Linked DNA regions of Homo sapiens: region 2 is linked to region 1. Evidence: promoter capture Hi-C in human tissues and cell types (Jung and others, 2019). All regions are on one chromosome and are shown on one strand. Each heading gives the region's core, a stretch centred on a gene start or on the middle of the fragment in contact. The rest is flanking DNA. Distances are from core to core; before and after follow the strand shown. Region 1 holds the start of ABCC10 (ATP binding cassette subfamily C member 10). Region 2 has its middle 12 kb from the start of PEX39.

What was found. Contacts are between HindIII fragments. The study calls those that stand out against the background at their distance.
Region 2: a fragment that was not itself captured here is called in contact with the fragment with the promoter of ABCC10 in region 1 in 1 of the 25 tissues and cell types used here (psoas muscle).

The regions. Positions count from the first base shown.
Region 1 is chr6:43,425,982-43,428,947 of GRCh38, reverse strand. ABCC10 (ATP binding cassette subfamily C member 10) reads right to left here and starts at 1,407. Exons shown (of 22, transcript NM_001198934.2): 1 at 1,191-1,407; 2 at 809-980. The coding sequence starts at 969. LOC105375065 (a long non-coding RNA gene) reads right to left here. Exons shown (of 6, transcript XR_007059585.1): 6 at 2,934-2,966. RefSeq lists enhancers at 761-830, 2,932-2,966. The HindIII fragment of the contact is 15,144 bases long and covers 1-2,966 here.
Region 2 is chr6:42,901,151-42,904,116 of GRCh38, reverse strand. No RefSeq gene overlaps it. Among named protein-coding and RNA genes, the nearest start is that of PEX39, 12 kb to the right of the region's middle. RefSeq lists a silencer at 2,359-2,588. The HindIII fragment of the contact is 6,837 bases long and covers 1-2,966 here.

The DNA.
Region 1 (2,966 bases), core at 158-2,657:
GAGACAAAAGTCTAGAAGGGTTTAATCACCTAGCATAGACAGCCTTCTCAGAAGAGCAGCTATTAAAAATTGGCACAGTCTTTTGGGAACTCAGTCTAATGAGAAAGCAAGAAAGACCTCTTGGATAGAGACACTTCCCCCCATCAGACTAGGAACTCCCAAAGGCAGAGACCACACCGTCCTCCTATCTTCTCGGCAGCCAGAATGAGACTAACTTTAGTCATCTCTAGCCATACAAGAACTAAATACAAAATCAAGTTGAGTTTAGCATCCACACCTTATAGCCCTTAATTGGGGAAGGCTTAATGTTTGATTTTGCTCTTCTTGTCTATCTACTGCTTCCTCTTCAGCTGAGCCTAGGTATGCTTTTCTTAATCTGGAAACACTAAGGTTTCATGGGTTGCAGTGGTGAGAAACTGAGCCTACAACTTAAACACATCATCGCTTTTGGCTAAAAACGTTGTTCCCCCAATTCTGCCTCCAATTCATGACAGCTGAGTCCGGGTAGCTGAAAATGGACAATTCTGATGATTTCTGATACTCATCGGACCTTTAAAAACATGCCAGGCGCTGCACTATATGCTTAAATTCATTATCTCATTTAAACCTCCCAACAATGAGACTCAGAGAAGGCAGGTACTTGCCCAAGAACAGCCACATTGCTGCTAAGTAGCAATGCTTAGATTTTATTCTACTTCTGCCCTACTCCAGAGACCTCGCTATTCTGGTGACACTGCCGGAAGATGTAGGCCGCGGGTGAGATCTGCAGGCACACATGGACAGATGCCTTGCGCCCGTCTCTACCCACCTCGGGGTGCCCAAGTAACAGGCACTGAGCACGGCGAGGAGCGCGTGGGGCAGGGCGCTGAGCACCAGCTGGGTGAAGCAGTGGCCTGTGGTGTCCCCCTCCCACAGCGGGAGCGGCCACGCTGCGCTGCTGCCGCACAGCTGGGCCAGAAGTCGTTCCATGGACGCCTCACCTGAAGGGAAAGTTGAGGGTGACGGCTGTGCAGGGTAACAGCCGGCTTTGCCTGCACTTCCCAGCCGGGTCTCCCTGTCTCCAGCCCCGCCCTGGAACCGGGACCGCCCGTCGCTTCCGCCCCGAAGCCAGACCCCGCCCATTCTCGCGGTACCAAGGGTAAAAACGGGAGGAGGTTTCCCCAGTGGATTTCTGGACGCTGGTCACCCACCTTGCCATCTGTTTTTCCCCTCCCGTTTCTCCGCCCCCAGGCATCCGGAACCTCAAACCTGAAGAAGCTGCTGTGCACCGGATTCCGATATCCTGAGAACTGGTGTATGCAAAAAAAAAAAAAGTACTGCCCGGCCGGGGTGCTGGGCCCGCCCCGGCTGGCACCCCACCTAGAGGTTGGAAGACCTAGCCGGCGCTATTCGCCACGCCCATATGCTGGTAGCTGCACGCATGTGCACTGCTCTCTGCTTCGGCTGGCCTTTGCACGCAGGCGCGCTGGTGCAGACGCACAGTTGCGTTTTGGTACGCTTTTGTGGCCTGACTTGCGTTAAGGATCCATCCCTCCCTTAGTGCAACGTCATTTATAACCTCTCACGTGGAGTATTCGCTCACAACTGTGTAAGCTTACTAGTTGGCACAAGCATTGCAATCTCCATTTCTTGAAGAGGTGGGGAGCCGGGCACGGTTGCGCGCCTCGGTAGTCCCTGCGCGCCCGTAGTCTCTGCGCGCCGGTAGATCCCAGGAGGATGGCCTGAGCCCAGGAGTTCGAGAACAGTCCAAGCAGCATAGCGAGACCCCAGTCTCAGATAGATAGATGGATGGATGGAAATTCAAACATACCTGCCCCACGGACAAATAATGCCATTTTGGGACACACTGTTTTCCCTTATTATTCTAGGGCTGCATGACCTTGGACAAGTTACCTAACTTTTTTGAGCCTCAACTTTTTTTTGGGGGGGGGACGGAGTCTCGCTCTGTCACCAGGCTGGAGTGCAGTGGCACAATCTCGGTTCACTGCAACCTCCGCCTCCCGGGTTAAAGCGATTCTCCTGCCTCAGCCTCCCGAGTAGCTGGGACTACAGGCGCGCGCAACCACGCCCAGCCAATTTTTTTGTTCGTATTTTTAGTAGAGACGGGGTTTCACCATGTTGGCAAGGATGGTCTCGATCTCCTGACCTCGTGATCCGTCCGCCTTGGCCTTCCGAAGAGCCGGGATTACAGGCGTGAGCCACCACCCCGGCCGAGCCTCAACTTCTTTATTTGTACAACAGGGACAATACCAATACTAAAGTACTGTTGAGAGAGTTGAATAATTAATTTAGAGTGCTTAGGGCAAGTGCTTTGCCTAGGGTAGTCCTCCAATAAATCTTTTAAGGAAGCAGTGGGAAGAACATAACCTTTATAATTATACGGACCTGGGTTTGAATGCTTTTAGCAGAGGGATGTTGGGCAGGTTACTTCTGCATCTTTATTTTATTATGTTTGTCAGGCATGGTGTTGGTATCCGCCTTTACATAGGTGTGTACAGTGCTTGAAGAAGAAAAGCTAAACAAATGACAATTATGGTTATCCCACTTAATCTCAGTAAGAAGCCCCATATCCCTCAACGTCAAGAATTAATTTTCCTATTTTTAAAAACTAAGAGATGTAGGTTTGCATTTCACAATCTTTAGTAATTAATTAACAGAGTCTTGCTACCTGGCCCAGGCTGGTCTTGAACTCCTGGCCTCAGGTGATGCGCTTGCCTTGGCCTCCCAAAGTGCTGGGATTATAGGTGTGAGCCACTGCACCTGGCCAGGCTCCACTTCTAATTCTAATTCACTTGCTGTTTCCATCACATCTGCAGTTACTTCCTCCACTGATGTCTTGAAGGTCCATCCGTGAAGGTTGGAATCAGCTTCTTCCAAACTTCTGTTAATGTTGATATACGTTGTCCTCCTCCCATGAATCCCATGAATCACAGTTTTTTATTTATTTATTTATTTATTTTTATTGA
Region 2 (2,966 bases), core at 349-2,848, 530 kb after region 1:
TCCCAAGCACCAGGGACAAAGGCCAAATTCTATTTTTTTTTTTTTTTTTTTTTTTTTTGAGATGGAGTCTCACTCTATCGCCCAGGCTGGAGTGCAGTGGTGCAATCTCCACTCACTGCAAGCTCCACTCCCAGGTTCACGCCATTCTCCTGCCTCAGCCTGTCGAGTAGCTGGGACTACAGGCGCCCGCCACCACGCCTGGCTAATTTTTTTGTATTTTTAGTAGAGACAGGGTTTCACCGTGTTAGCTAGGATGGTCTCGATCTCCTGATCTCAGGTGATCCACCCGCCTCGGCCTCCCAAAGTGCTGGGATTACAGGCGTGAGCCACCGTGCCCGGCCAATTTTTGTATTTTTAGTGGAAATGGAGTTTCTCCATGTTGGTCAGCCTGGTCTCGAACTCCTGATCTCAGGTGATCTGCCCGCCTCAGCCTCCCAAAGTGCTAGGATTACAGGCGTGAGCCACCATACCCAGCCTACGCCAAACTTGTAGGGAAAAGAGAGAGAGATCAGACTGTTACTGGGTCTACATAGAAAAGGAAGACATAAGAAAGTCCATTTTGATCTGTACCCTGAACAATTGTTTTGCCTGGAGATGCTGTTAATCTGTAACTTTAGCCCCAACCTTGTGCTCACAGAAATATGTGTTGTATGGAATCAAGGTTTAAGGGATCTAGGGCTGTGCAGGATGTGCCTTGTTAACAAAACGTTTACAGGCAGTATGCTTGATAAAAGTCATCGCCATTCTCCATTCTCGATTAACCAGGGGCACAATGCACTGCAGAAAGCCACAGGGACCCCTGCCCAGGAAAGCCAGTATTGTCCAAGGTTTCTCCCCACTGAGACAGCCTGAGGTATGGCCTCGTGGGACGGGAAAGACCTGACCATCCCCCAGCCCAACACCCGTGAAGGGTCTGTGCTGAGGAGGATTAGTAAAAGAGGAAGGCCTCTTGCAGTTGAAATAAGAGGAAGGCCTCTGTCTCCTGCATGCCCCTGGGAACGGAATGTCTCAGTATAAAACCCGATTGTACATTCGTTCTATTCTGAGATAGGAGAAAACCGCCCTGTGGCTGGAGGTGAGATATGCTGGTGGCAATACTGCTCTGTTATTCTTTACTACACTGAGATGTTTGGGTGGAGAGAAGCATGAGTCTGGCCTATGTGCACATCCAGGCATAGTACCTTCCCTTGAACTTATTTGTGACACAGATTCCTTTGCTCACATGTTTTCTTGCCAACCTTCTCCCCGCTATCACCCTGTTCTGCCACATTCCCCTTGCTGAGATAGTGAAAATAATAATCAGTAAATACTGAGGGAACTCAGAGACGGGGGCCGGTGCAGGTCCTCTGTATGCTGAGCGCCAGTCTCCTGGGCCCCACTGTTCTTTCTCTATACTTTGTCTCTGTGTCTTATTTCTTTTTTTAGTCTCTCGTCCCACCTGACGAGAGATACCCACAGGTGTGGAGGGGCAGGCCACCCCTTCATCTGCCGCCAATGTGGGTGCCTTTCTCTAAGGTGAAGGTACATTAAGAACGTGAGCATTGAGGACAGTCGACGAGAGATTCCCGAGTACGTCCACCGTCAGCCTTGCGGTAAGCTTGTGTGCTCGGAGGAACCCAGGGTAACAATGGGACAAACTGAAAGTAAATATGCCTCTTATCTCAGCTTCATTAAAATTCTTTTAAGAAGAGGGGGAGTTAGGGCTTCTACAGAAAATCTAATTACGCTATTTCAAACAATAGAACAATTTTGCCCCTGGTTTCCAGAACAGAGAACTTTAGATCTAAAAGATTGGGAAAAAAATTGGCAAAGAATTAAAACAAGCAAATAGGGAAGGTAAAATCATCCTACTTACAGTATGGAATGATTGGGCCATTATTAAAGCAACTTTAGAACCGTTTCAAACAGAAGAAGATAGCATTTCTGCTGCCCCTGAAAGCTGTGTAATAGATTGTGAAGAAGAGGCAGAGACAGAGTTTAGGAAAGGAATGGAAAGTTCACATTGTAAATATGTAGCAGAGTCTGTAATGGCTTGGTCAACGCAAAATGTTGACTACAATCAATTAAAGGAGGTAATATATCATGAATAATCAAAATTGGGGGAAGGAGGTCCAGAATTATTGGGGCCATCAGAGCCTAAACCACGATGGCCATCAACTCCTCCCGTGGTTCAGATACCTGTAACATTACAACCTCAAAGGGAGGTTAGACAAGTACAAACCCCAAGAGAATATCAAGTAGAAAAGGATAGAGTCTCTATCCCGGCAATGCCAATTCAGATGCAGTATCCACAATATAAGCTGGTAGAAAATAAGACCCAACCACCAGTAATTTATCAGTACTGGCCGCCAGCCGACCTTCAGTATCGGCCACCTCCAGAGGTTAAATACAGACCTCAAGTGGTGTGTCCTGTGCCAAATAGCACGGCACCATACCAGCAACCCACGGCAGTGGTGTTTAATCCTACCGCACCACCTAGTGGACAAGGTAGTACACTGCATGAAATTATTGATAAAGCCAGTAAACAGGGAGATCTTGAGGCATGGGAGTTCCCGGTAATTTTACAACCGATACCGGCCGGGAAAGGGACTCTAGCAGGAGCGTCTGTCCAAACTGAAGCTAGATATGAATCTTTCACCATGAAAATGTTAAAAGATATGAAGGAAGGAGTTAATATGGACCCAACTCCCCTTATGTGAGAACATTATTAGATTCCATTGTTCATGGAAATAGACTTATTCCTTATGACTGGGAAATTTTGGCTAAATCTTCCCTTTCACCCTCTCAGTTTCTACAGTTTAAACCGTGGTGGATCGATGGAGTACAAGAACAGGTACGAAAAAATCAGGTTACTAACCCCACTGTTAATATAGATGCAGACCAATTGCTAGGAACAGGTCCAAATTGGAGCACCATTAACCAACAATCAGTAATGCAGAACACCTGTTGAACACCTAAGGGCTATT